Regions from separate parts of the Homo sapiens genome. Here region 2 is linked to region 1. Evidence: promoter capture Hi-C in 16 types of primary human blood cells and fetal thymus (Javierre and others, 2016). All regions are on one chromosome and are shown on one strand. Each heading gives the region's core, a stretch centred on a gene start or on the middle of the fragment in contact. The rest is flanking DNA. Distances are from core to core; before and after follow the strand shown.

Evidence for each region. Contacts are between HindIII fragments. The CHiCAGO score rates a contact against its expected background, and 5 or more counts as called.
Region 2: a contact is called between a fragment that was not itself captured here and the fragment with the promoter of BANF2 in region 1, in 1 of 17 cell types (M1 macrophages). The highest score is 5.5, in M1 macrophages.

Annotation. Positions count from the first base shown.
Region 1 is chr20:17,696,978-17,703,225 of GRCh38, forward strand. It overlaps BANF2 (BANF family member 2), which reads left to right and starts at 2,989. Exons shown (of 4, transcript NM_178477.5): 1 at 2,989-3,078. It overlaps LOC105372547 (a long non-coding RNA gene), which reads right to left and starts at 2,882. Exons shown (of 2, transcript XR_937294.2): 1 at 2,522-2,882; 2 at 639-1,203. The HindIII fragment of the contact is 11,340 bases long and covers 1-5,947 here.
Region 2 is chr20:17,768,763-17,775,010 of GRCh38, forward strand. No RefSeq gene overlaps it. Among named protein-coding and RNA genes, the nearest start is that of BANF2, 72 kb to the left of the region's middle. The HindIII fragment of the contact is 4,157 bases long and covers 1,054-5,210 here.

The DNA.
Region 1 (6,248 bases), core at 1,739-4,238:
GATAATGGGGAGGAGAATGTGGAAGGAGTTAGGGTGGAAACTAAGGCTCCCTGCAAAAGCTATGGCAGAGTTGGATTAATCCTACCACAGTGCAGGTGTGAGGCTGGGTGTAGCATGGTATTGAGCAGAACACCTAGGAAAGCATATTAATCCTAACAGGCCAGCAGATATCCCTAGCGAGCCTTCTCTAAACACCTGAAACTCCCCCAAAAGCATGAACAAGAGCCATATTTTATATGGTGCTAGCTCCACCTCCATATTCTTATTCCAGGAGGAATTGTCCAGGGAGATGGAAAGCAGGTGGAATTTGTGTAGCAAATCAGTCCCCTGGGGGTAGCACATTCAGGCCTCCCTGTGCAGAGGAAAAGGCCTTTGGGCCAGGTTGCCAGGCCTCCCCCTGAGCATATCAGCTCATGTGTTTCCTCAAGACATTCCTAATGATACTCCAAAGGCCAACCAGCAGAACACCTCCATCTGCCCTGAGACCTGACACTCACCGGTTCCCAGACATTCTGAATTATACCAAGCCAATTTATATAGTTTCTCCATCTAAATGTGAACTTACAAAGAACAGACATCATTTCTTATTTACAAAGTCTTAGTTTGGGTTCCCCCTGAAGCAGACCCTGAAACAAGGATTTGAGTGGAAGCAGTTTATTTGCAGTTTGATCCCAGGAAACATAGGTAGGGGAGCGGGGAAGTGAGGCAGGGGATGGGGGCAACAATGTGGGGTATGTTAGCAAGCCAGTTGCCACTGTGGGCACTGATATGGTTTGAATATTCGTCCCCTCCAAATCTCACGTTGAAAAGTGATTGCAATGTTGGAAGTGGGGCCTGGTGGGCGGTGTTTGTGTCCTGGGGGCAGATCCCTCATGAATGTCTTGGTGCTGTACTCATGATAGTGAGTTCTTGTGAGAGCTGGCTGTTTAAAAGTGTGTGGTACCCGGCCGGGTACGGTGGGTCATGCCTATAATCCCAGCACTTTGGGAGGCCAGGATGGGCGGATCATCTGAGGTCAGGAGTTTGAGACCAGCCTGGCCAAAAAAGTGAAACCCCATCTCTACTAAAAATACAAAAAAATTAGCTGGGAGTGGTGGTGGGTGCCTGTAAATCCCAGTTACTTTGGAGGTTGAGGCAGGAGAATTGCTTGAACCCGGGAGGCGGAGGTTGCAGTGAGCCGAGATCACGCCATCGCATTCCAACCTGGGCAACAAGAGTGAGACTCCATCTCAAAAATAAAAAATAATAATAAAAAAAAAAGGTGTGTGGTACCTCCCTTGCCTTGTTCCCACTCTTGCCATGTGATACACTGGCTCCCTGTTTACCTTCAGACATAATTGTCAGCTCCTTAAGGCCTCACTGGAAGCAAAGCAGGTGCTGGCACCGTGCTTCCTGAACAGCCTGCAGAACTGTGAGCCAATTAAACCTCTTTTCTGTGGAAATTACCCAGCCTCAGATATTTCTTTATAGGAAGAGAATGGCCTAGCATAGGCACCTACGGGTGGGTCCTGTGGGTCCTCTGGGACATGGAACAGGACATGACTCCAGGTTATTCCACCTGAGCAGGGAGGGAGCTGGGTTATTTATCTACCAACTGATAATAGTCATTGAATGAGGACATTCTGCAACTTGCAGCTGCCCGCTTGTAGGCAGGGTGGACTCCAGCAGCTGGCAAAAGCCCCCAAGCAAAGATACGCAGGTACTGGCAGCTGGGAGTCAGATTACCTTTGTACAATGAAGTTGTAAGGCCAAGAGGCTATGGGCAGGGCACTGACAACGTCAGTTGTGCTTCCCCAAAACGTGGCTCAGTTCTGGCAATGAATAGATCCTCAGTAAAGCGTGCTGGTTGAACCCAGAGAGCTCAGCCAGCTTTGGCCCCAAAGCTACAGCTCCTGTTTATTCTCCAGCAACCCCTGAATACTGCCATCAGCTGGCAATACTATTTCAGGATCAAACCTAAGATACCAGCACCCTTACATGTTCTTAAAGTGTGTAGTCTCAGAGCAAGCAGCCTCAACGTCATGTGGGAACGTGTAAGAAATGTGAATTATTGGGTTCTCCCCCAGACCTAATGAGTCAGAAACTTTGAGAGTGGGGCCCAGGAATCTGTATTTTAACGAGTCTTCCAGGTCATTCTAATGCAACCTACAGTTTAAGACCCACTGTTTTGGACTCTAAAATTTAGGGCCACCCAACAGTTTCCAAAGCGAAGCCGTTTGCTCTTGGTTAGAACTCCTCCATCCCCAATCCCAAGCACCAGCAGCAAAAGGGAATGGAATCTCTGGAAACATTTTATACTTTGCCCCCTTTTTTGAGTTTTTCTTTTCTTTTTAGGCTTAGTAAATATACATTGTACCAAGTTATCAATTACCAACAATGGAAAGTAGCCCAGGCATATATGCTATAGAGGATAACCTAAAAGACACCTGTGTTGAATTTAACTTGAAGGTGGGAGGATTTATATTTCTGCTTGTTTTCCTGAGCTAATATTTAAGTTACTTCTCTTTCCTTGAGTCCCTACCAGGTGGGCAGTAGGGGGAAAGTCACGGGTATACTGGTAGAAGAAAAAGCTGCCCTGGAATTTCAAGTCCATCACAGAAGATGTGCAAGGAGCTGGGGGTACCCACGGAAGTCACTTTGTGCAGGAAAACTGCATGAAGGATGGACTTGGTTTAACTGAATTGACGCAGGCCAGGTGAGAATAGGAACCGTGGCAGCAAGTGGCAGCAGGTGGATTCATAAGCAGTCTTCCAGGCTGATGTTTTCTGTACAGCAGACATCCCTCACTCTTTCCCAGCAACCCCAGCTGAGAACAGCACCCAGACAGGCTGATTTCTTCTGGAGAGGCCTGAGGCTCTTGCTCCTGCCCTGCCCTGTGCCCTGATGCCAGCAGCCACTGCAGCCCTTTTTGTGCTCACCCCCGACCTGTGGTGTGACATCACAATGTAGTCCATTCAGGATCTTGAGACTGATTTGCCCCATGGGCCTAAGACATAAGCTGAACCTCTGGCCTGCAGTTCCAGATCCAAGGTGACTGAGACAAACTGCCAGCTGCCACTGGCTTATCAGGAGCACCTGGTGAGTATTCAGAACTTTCCCAAGCAGCATGGAAGGAGATACAGCCAACAGCTGGCTGTCTTAGCACTTTAAGGTCTCATTCTCACACAGGTTTAGATGAGCCAAACCGGTGGACAGGAGTTCACCAGGTAAGCCCCAAACTCTTCCTAGGAAAGCTGACTCACCTGATGCACACACCCCTTCCCAGCCTCTTCCTGCTGTGTCACCATCTGCGGGAGGTGGTACTCTAGTCTCCCCTAAGACTCGGCTTGCCACCTGCACCAGCTCCCTGGGCAAAGGTCACCTGTGTTCTTAATAGAGCAGAGAGGCCAGGCTTTCAGATGGCAAATTCACTAGAGCATCACTTCTAGCCCTAATTGAGGTCAGGGACAGCCATTGGCCAAATGACACACCACATAGCAGGATGAGCAGAGGTAGCTGACACAGCCACCTCCCGTCCAAAATGTGAACGACGGTCCTTCCTTTCTGTAAGAGGCCTTCCTGCTTTGGCTGTTTTTAAATCCACCTCCTGGTGACCTGCTGGTATATCAAATCACTTCCTTTCCTTTTGGGACAGTAAGAGAGCTTTAGGATCGTGACGGGAAATAAGGAGATGGATTAGAACACCAGGAAAGTGGGCAAAATCTAAGGTAGCGGGGACAGGGACAGAGGCCAAAGCCATCTCTCAAAGAGGATGCTGGCTCTTTCCATATGGGCCACCTGCACTCGGCTGAGGGTGGTTTGAGACTCAAGGCCTTCTATAACAAACAGTAGGGACCCGTTCTGGGCCCCAGGAGGCACAGCTGCCTTCCCTACCATGGCCCATTCGTGTTTTCCCACAGTCTGTCTACGGTCCATTCACCATCTGTGAGTGCCAACACGTCCACACAGCTGCAGCTGCGTCCCTTCTCCCACAAAGGAGTGGCTTCTATAGGGACCCCATGATTTTAAGAAGGCTCCTGGCTCTCCTTGACTGTGTAAGGTAGAAAGGGAGGTGGTGGGGGGTGGATCAGAGAAATATTTTACCCTTAGGCTTTGCCATCCCTCCTTAGTTTTATATGTGATGGGCTGAAGCCAACCTCTGCTTCACACACAAATCCAAGACGCCAATGGTTCACCAAGCATGCTAAGAACATTTTAGCCTATGTTAGGCCCCACTGGAAAAGGAAAAAAGACAGTAGAGGGGCCGGCGCTAGAGCAACCTGTGGTCCCCGTCCTGCAGCAGGTTTAATTTGGAGAGGAGAAAGGGAGCAAACGCTGAACCTCCCGTGCCAGACCCACCAGCTATGTTATTGCTCTTAATTCCGACCTCTGTGAAGCAGGTGTTCTCAGGTTCATTCTACAGACATAGAAACTGAAGACTGTTCTGTGCTGGTGCCACGTCTAAAGAGGGTCATTAACCTGGAGCATGCCTTCACTCTCTATCGACTATCCCCAACATTAGAGCTCTCTGAAAAGAGAATGGGCTGCTTTGCAAGGCAGCAAGAGTGTGCAGGCCACGGCTCTTCCATCAGCATGGAAGGGAACGGGATTCTTGTGATCAGCTGGGAGCTGGACCAAAAGACCTTTAAAGGCTGTTTCCAAATCCAAGATTGTAGGTTTCTGGGTGTTAGTACTTTGCCCACCCTCTGCGATTGAACTCAGGTGGGTCACGCCTTAAGGACGGCTGCAAACTTTCTGTTAGGCAAGGAGAACTGGGAAGAACCATAGAGATCAGCTACGGGCCCCAGGTAGGAAAGAGGAACCCAGGCTGGTTGAGGGAGTTTTCCAAGGCTCCAGAGCCAATTTGCAGAGTTAACCTGTGTTGACTGAACAAATGGAGGAGCCAGTTCTGAGTGCTGATCAAACGTTCCCATGCCCATCTCTCTCATTCACCTGGTTCTTTCCTATCAAGATTATGATTCAGCCACCATTTACAAAATGCCTGCTGCATGCCAAGTGTGTTTCCAGAGATTATTCCACCTACTCCTCCCCAGCTCCATGAGGTGGGTGTCATCAGCCCCGTTTCTCAGATGAGCATGGTTAGGTAACCACCCCAGAGGATCAGGTACTTGTGGAGATGTCATAAATACTAAATGACGAAGCAGGTCTTTCTAACCCCAAGGAAAACTTATGTCTCCATCTGCCGCCTCCCAGCTTGTGTGAGGAAGCAGGGTCTCCTTTCTTAGCCTTTCCCTAAGGCAAACTGCCATCGATGTGCCAAGTTCCACAGTGCCTATTTCCAGCTCCTCTTGGACGTTGCCCTGATGGATGCTGAACTCCCTGTGGGCCCGCCTGTTTCACTGGCCCGGCCCCTCACTCTGATGGGGCAAGATGGAGCGATGTCTATACACGGACAGATGTTATGCACCAAGGAAGAAAATCTGCTAATCGAAAGCAGCTTCAGCTAATTGTGGCACTCTCCCTTCTGCGTGGTGCCCTGAAATAGTAGCCATGCTCTGTTCTTTTTTCACATCAGGGAGCCCCAACTGGCAACTTAAATGAGGTTGCAAAGAAGTCAGTTACACAGACCTCTGCTGCCAGTTTCCATGGATGAGGCCTTGCTGATGCTCCTTGGATAGGACCCGTGTGCAACTGTTTGTGGACTTGGCTTCTTGCTGTGGATAATTTGGACCCACTGTTGGGCTGGAAAAGCCTCATTTAACCCTGGGGAAAACTGGAACCTTCAGAAATTTAATGGAATACTAAGCCCAAGAACACATGGTCTGACCTTGAACCCTGGTTCTGATCTGCTTCTGAGTTATTCTATAGCCATCTCAGCCAACAGAACCGTCACGGGAATATTCTGTCTCTGTGTTGTCTCATATGATAGCCACTAGGCACACAGGGCCACTGGGCACTTGGGATGTGGCCAGTGGGACTGAGGAGCTGCGCTTGTTGTTTAAATGGAAGCTTAGATTACATAGCCATCGGTGGCTGGTGGCGGTGTGCTAGACGCTGCTGCTCTGGGCCCTGCTGACTTTTGTGACTTCATCTCTGATCTCATTCCCCTCTCCTGGCTTTCCCTTTCCCTCTGCCTTCACTCCCAGACCTCCTGTGCTTTTTGATTTTTGCATTTGCTGTTCTCTCTGCCGGCATCACTTTTTCCTCTGATCATTTTATGGTTTGCCCCTGTTCAACAGGAGGGCCTCAGATCAAGTGTGTGTCTTCAGAAAGATCTTCCCTATTCTACCTAATTGTGTCCCCAGCCC
Region 2 (6,248 bases), core at 1,882-4,381, 72 kb after region 1:
ATGAAAAAGGGAACAAATATTTATGGGTCACAATATTTTAAGTTACTTGAGAGCCAGAGGGATGCATTTTCCAGGGCCTAGCCCAGGGCTTGGCACGGTATTAGATCCAGGGCAACTAATGCCTGCCATTCACATGGAAGACATGATCAGGAGATAGCTGTTCTCTTCCCTGCTGAGTCCAGACCAGCCTCAGAATCCTTCTCAACACAGCACTCCAGATGAAACTAACTGCCATCCTTTTCAAACGCATCACCTCCCCTCAGAACCTGCCCCAGTCCCCTAGAAAGTGCTCAACAAAAGCTTATTGACATGGACAAGGTATCCACTGTGGTCCACACCCTGTGACAGGCACATTTGAACACCATCAGCTTTCTAATGGAAAGCTATCTGCCGCTGCATCCCTTTCTCTGGCAATCTTACCTTTGCCTAAGCTCTGATAAGTGTTGACAGCATCTGTTTCAAGAGTGGGTTTGCACACGTTTAAAATGGCAACTGTCTCTGTACCCTCAGAGTCCCAGGGAAGACCTTACAGCCATGGTGTGGTGGTACCTGTGCAACAACCAGCTCTCAAAAAAAAAAAGTCCTATTTATAGCATCTGCCAATTTCCATGATATACAGGTTCCTACCGTGGTCAGTTTCAAACTATCAACCTGATCTCGATAAAAGCAGAGTTGAGAAAAGATGCACGTAATTGGCTCTTGAGACCTGACATGAGCTGGCTCCAGCACAACACAGCCTTCAAGTACATTTTGTTTCCCATGTGACTCTAGAACCACATCAGAATTTTCTTCAAGGTTGTTTTACCAACAGTCACTCAAGAACACTTGCTGACAATCCAAGACAGAGACCTAAATTCTCTTCTAGAACTTAGAGCCACTTCTAAAATCAAGATTAATGCTACTTTAGGCTCTAGAGTGAAATGTGCATGAAGAGATGTCACCTGACAGTGTAAAATTTATTCCCAGGTATTGCCTGCCTTCAGCACGCCACTCGGTTCCGCTCTTATTCTGTTGTGCACATTCAATCCACTCATTGACAATAACAACTTTCAAAGCTTTCCCTCAAAATTTTATTACATAAAATGTTTGGCATTTATAAAAATAGTATATGACTAGGCCAGGCATGGTGGCTCAGGCCTGTAATCCCAGCACTTTGTGACACTGACGTGGGTGGATGACTTGAGGTCAGGAGTTTGAGATCAGCCTGGCTAACATGGCAAAATCTTGTCTCTATAAAAAATATAAAAATTAGCCAGGCATGGTGGCCCACGCCTGTAATCCCAGCTACTCAGGAGGCTGAGGCACAAGAATTGCTTGAACCCAGGAGGCGGAGGTTGCACCGAGCCGAGGTTGTGCCACTACACTCTAGCCTGGGCGACAGAGTGACACTCCATCTCAAAAAATAAAATAAAATAAAATAAAAAATAGTATATGACTATTGTGACCCAATTTAATTCTTATCAATCCATGACCAATCTTTCCGTATCTATACTTGACCCACTTTTCACCTCCTATATTACCTTGAAACAAATCCCAAACATCATTTCATCTGTAAAGATTTCACTAAAAAGCAATAATATTTTAATCTGGAAAACTCATATAAACTGAGGTATTTTGCAACTTTTCAGTATAATAAAAAAAGAAAAAAGTAAGCTGAGGTATAATCAACTGAGGAGGAGTAAATTGTCAGCTCTCTCTGACTTCATGGAATTTTTATTTTTATTTTTGAGACAGAGTCTCACTCTGTCACCTAGGCTGGAATGCAGTGGCGTGATTTCTGCTCACTCCAACCTCTGCCTCCTGGTTTCAAGCAACTCTTATGCCTCAGTCTCCCGAGTAGCTGGGATTACAAGCGTGCACCACCACACCTAGTTAATTTTTTTGTATCTTTAGTAGATAAGAGACTTTGACATGTTGGCTAGGCTAGTCTCGAACTCCTGGCCTCAAGCGATCTGCCTGCCTTGGCCAAGGCAGGAGGATTGCTTGATTGAGTCCAGGAATTAGAGACCAGCCTGGGCAACATACGGAGACCCCATCTCAAAAAAAAATTTAAAAATTAGCTGGGTGTGGTGGTGTATGCCTGTGGTCCCAGCTACTTAGGAGGCTGAGGCAGGAGGATCGCTTGGGCCCAGGAAGTTGAGGCTGCGGTGAGCCATGACCACACCACTGCACTCCAGCCTGGGCAACAGAGTGAGACCTTGTCTCAAAATAAAGAAAAAAAAAGGAAAAGAAAATTGGGGATCATTTGCCAACATTTAGCAATTGGGAGATTTTTCTATAAAAATCCTATGGAGGCCAACCCAACAGCTTCTCTCCCCAGCTTTAAGCAGGGCTGATTGGAGACTCAACCCCCTACTCCCTCCCAAGACACCTCTGGCCAATGAGGAATGGATGTTGGTGGGATAAATACTCCAGCTTCCTTGCCCCTCAGGTGGGCTGCTGTGAAGCATGTCCCTGCCATCTCCCAAGGCCCCTACAGTGTTGAGTTCTGCTTGTCCACGGTGCTAACTACCCATCAATACTCTGAACAGGTTTGTCTCCCTTCCCCGCTCCCCAGGGGGGCTTCCAGAAATGCGTTTCCAAACAATCTTCTGAACTCCATCTTTCTCTACTTCTGGGAGAATTCAACCCAAGATCTGGTCCACCAGCTCTCAGCCCAAGTCCTCCCAGTTACCAGCTCTACCCCCGGCGGGGCATGTTCATCCGGAGTGCTGCTGTGACCCAGTCATTGTGCAAGGGCGCCGTGCTGCAAAGATCAAAGAAGCCTCTGCATTCTGGAAAATATTGGGTCAAATAGCATGTCATTTTAGAAAAGCTCTCAAGTATGGCATTTCCTGAGCACTGCAATTACAGCCTCTTTCTATGTTGGCTTTAAATGCCCGTGTAAGCAGCTATTTACTCTCTGGCTCGGGGCACCACTAAAGGGCTCTTGCTCGCTCTAAATATATCATGACAAACTCATAACCCTCAGGCTGCCCGAATGTACATTTGTGAGAGTCGGCCACCGTGCTTGTGGTTGAGTGCGTCCACATACAACCGTGCCCTGAGTGCAGTTCAAAGCTAAGCAGAGCCTCTTCCCTACTTTCCCCTTCGCCGCTCCCCTCCCCAGGAGAAGCCATGAGGAATTTCTCTGAAGAGAAAAAAGCGACAGGACTTTGAGATTCACTGTTAGACTGGCTCCAAGGGCAGGAGCTTCCTAGAGTTTAACAATAGGCCTGGCACTTAAAATATGTGCCAATAAATATTTGTCAAATTCTGAACCACGTTGGTGGCTTGCTTTCCCTCCCTCCCTTCCTCCTCCCTTTTCTTTCTTTTTTTTTCTTTCCCTTCCTTCCTTCTTTTTCTCTTTCTTCCTTCCTGTCTTTCTTCCCTTCTCTTTGCCTTCCCTCCTTCCTTCCTTTCTTTCCCTCCTTTCAAAAGTATACACATGTCATTGCTTGTAATAGACAAAAAACTGGATTCAACCTTCGTGCCGATGGACAATAGCAGGTTAAGTCCTGTACATCCACCTAATGGAATATTCTGTGGCCTTTTCAAAGAGAGCTCTTTATGCTCTGAGGTGGAGGTGCCTCCCAGACATATTGTTAAGTGAAAGAAGTCACATGCTGAAGAGCATGTATGGTGTGTTATCACCTGTGAAAAAAGAAAAAAATGCTTATAAATGCATGAAATACCTCAGGAAAGCTAAAAAAGAAACTAACAAAGGTTGCTTCTGGAGAGGAGAAGTGGAATGTAGGGGTTCGAGGTGAGAAAGAAACCTCACTTTGTGTATTTTATTGATTGTATGTATGTATTTTTCAAATGCAATATCAATAAAAAGAAAGATAAAAGAGCCTGCTTTCCAGTCTGAATGCACTCCCTGGGGTGTGCATTTTCACAGTGGGTTTTGGAATCCTGTGTGCGCCCCCAGCAAAGTGCCTGCCTCAGAATACATAACAGATAGGTCCGTCTTGAGGGAAGCAGGTGGAGTTCTCACCAGTGGTTCCCATCTACCAAAGTCAGGCTGGCAACTTGACCTTCTTTAGGCAGAAACATCACAAATTAGAAGAAAGCATTCTCACAAGAGCACAGTGGACACACTTCATTCACTCTGGACGCATCTGCTGAGCACCGACTGTTTGCCGCACAGTGTTCCAGGCTCTGGGGTATGGCAGAGCAAGACGGATAATAACCCTGCCCTTCCTGCCTTCTAGCTTGCCTTCTAGCTGGAGGAGGAGGGGGCAATCAACAAGTTAAGTAAATAGATGGAGGCCGGGCACGGTGGCTCACGCCTGTAATCCCAGCACTTTGGGAGGCCAAGGCAGGTGGATGTCTTGAGCCCAGGAGTTCAAGACCGGCCTGGGCAACATGGCAAAACCCCATCTCTACAAAAAATACAAAACATAGCTGGGCGTGATGGTGGGCACCTGTAGTCCTAGCCACTCAGGAGGCTGAGGTGGGAGGATCACCTGAGCCTGGGAGGTCCAGGCTGCAGTGAGCCATGATCATGCCACTGCATGCCAGCCTGGGTGACAGAGTGAGACCCTGTCTCAAGTAAATAAATAAATAAGTAGATGGAGTATGTTAAATCTAGGTAAGGGCTCAGGAGGGGAAACAGCAGGAAAAGTGAATACGAAGTGCTGGGGGTGGGGGCAAGGCTGTGACTTCAAGGTGGTCAGCGGAATCCTCACAGAGAAGGTCAAGGCCTGAGGAGGGGAGGCAGTGGCTCTGGAGATATCTGGGGGAGGAGCTGGAAGGACCAGCAAGTGTAGGGACGAAGCTCCTCCACCGTTTGTAGATGGGTCTGGGTGCCCAGGAGCTCCTGGGAACTCCTCTGAGGCCTGGTTTTGTATGAACTTAGTTTCTCTGAACTTGGATCAGTCAGCCCCATGCTCGGAATCAGGTGGAGCCAAATGCAAAAAGGGACCCAGGGCTGCATGGCTCATGCCGAGAATGATGCCCTGCCGGCTCAACCTCCACTGCAGGCTCAGGTTTGGAGGAAATAGGCCCCAGAGACTAAAACAATAATACATGTTCCAAGAATACTTCAAAAATATTCCTCCTCACAGGCTTTCCCAGTGTGGGTTCTCCAGCCCACAAAACGCTGTGCCGAGAGAAAGTGGCTTCTAGGGGGCCTCTTGGAGACTGACCGAGGCTCCAACAAGTCCTGAGTAAGAAAACCTAACTCACTTTGTTCAGTTGGGTGTCTCCCAAACTTCCCTGATGGAAGAAGCTTTTTTTTTAAGTTACTGCTATTAATATTCTTGGACACAAATGTCCATGGACTCCTCTGAGTGACATTGAATTAGGAGGTTTCGGTGGATTCATCCCTGGAGAAATCATTTTATGAATCAAATACAGAAGTCTTTGCTTTCTGTTATTTTCCCTGTAAGAGTCTCTTTCAAGACTGTTACCCAAAAAAGAAAAAAGGAAAAACCAAAAAGAAGGTAAGCCTTAAAAATAACAAGAGCGTGCTATTTCCAGTTCAGTGGAATGCCTGTGTCCACTTACGAACAGCGAGTGGGCACCTCGGCTGTGGACAGACCCTGTGCCCGGTAAGTGGGCAACTGTCCAACTGTGCGACCACATTCAGCGTAAGGATGGCCTATCCCCCACTGCCCCTAAACCTTCCCTATTGCCTAAGAATGGGGGAAGGTGAAAGAGAACTTCCTAGAAATGAAGCCTGGAAATTCTCTTCCTAGGTATATGTCTACCAGAAACCAGTGCTTGTGCTGCATAGAAGCTTCCTAAGACATGTACGAGAATACACATAGGAGCACTGCTCATCATGCCCCCAAACAGGAAACAACCCAAATATCCATCAGCAGGAGGAGATATAAATTATGTGTGTGTGTTCATACAATGGAACACAACACAATGAGAAAAAGTATAAACTACCGCCACACACAGCAGCATGGAGGAACCTCTGGAAGCTTGCTGTGGGATTCCTTTGTTTGAAGGTCAAGGACAGGCAAGACTGCCCCATGATGACAAAGGTCAGAACAATGGCTAGTTTAGGGGGCAGTGCGAGAGACCCTGCTGGAAGCTGAAAATACGCAGAAAACCAGCAAGCTGCCCGCTTATAATTCATGCCCTTTACTCTAAGTTATATGCCAATAAAGAAGTCAACAAGTTGAGAAGTGAAAACATAAAAGTACACTTTGGGAGGCCGAGGCAGCCGGATCACGAAGTCAAGAGATTGAGTCCATCCTGGCCAATAAGGTGAAACCCCGTATCTACTAGAAATACAAAAATTAGCTGGGCGTGGT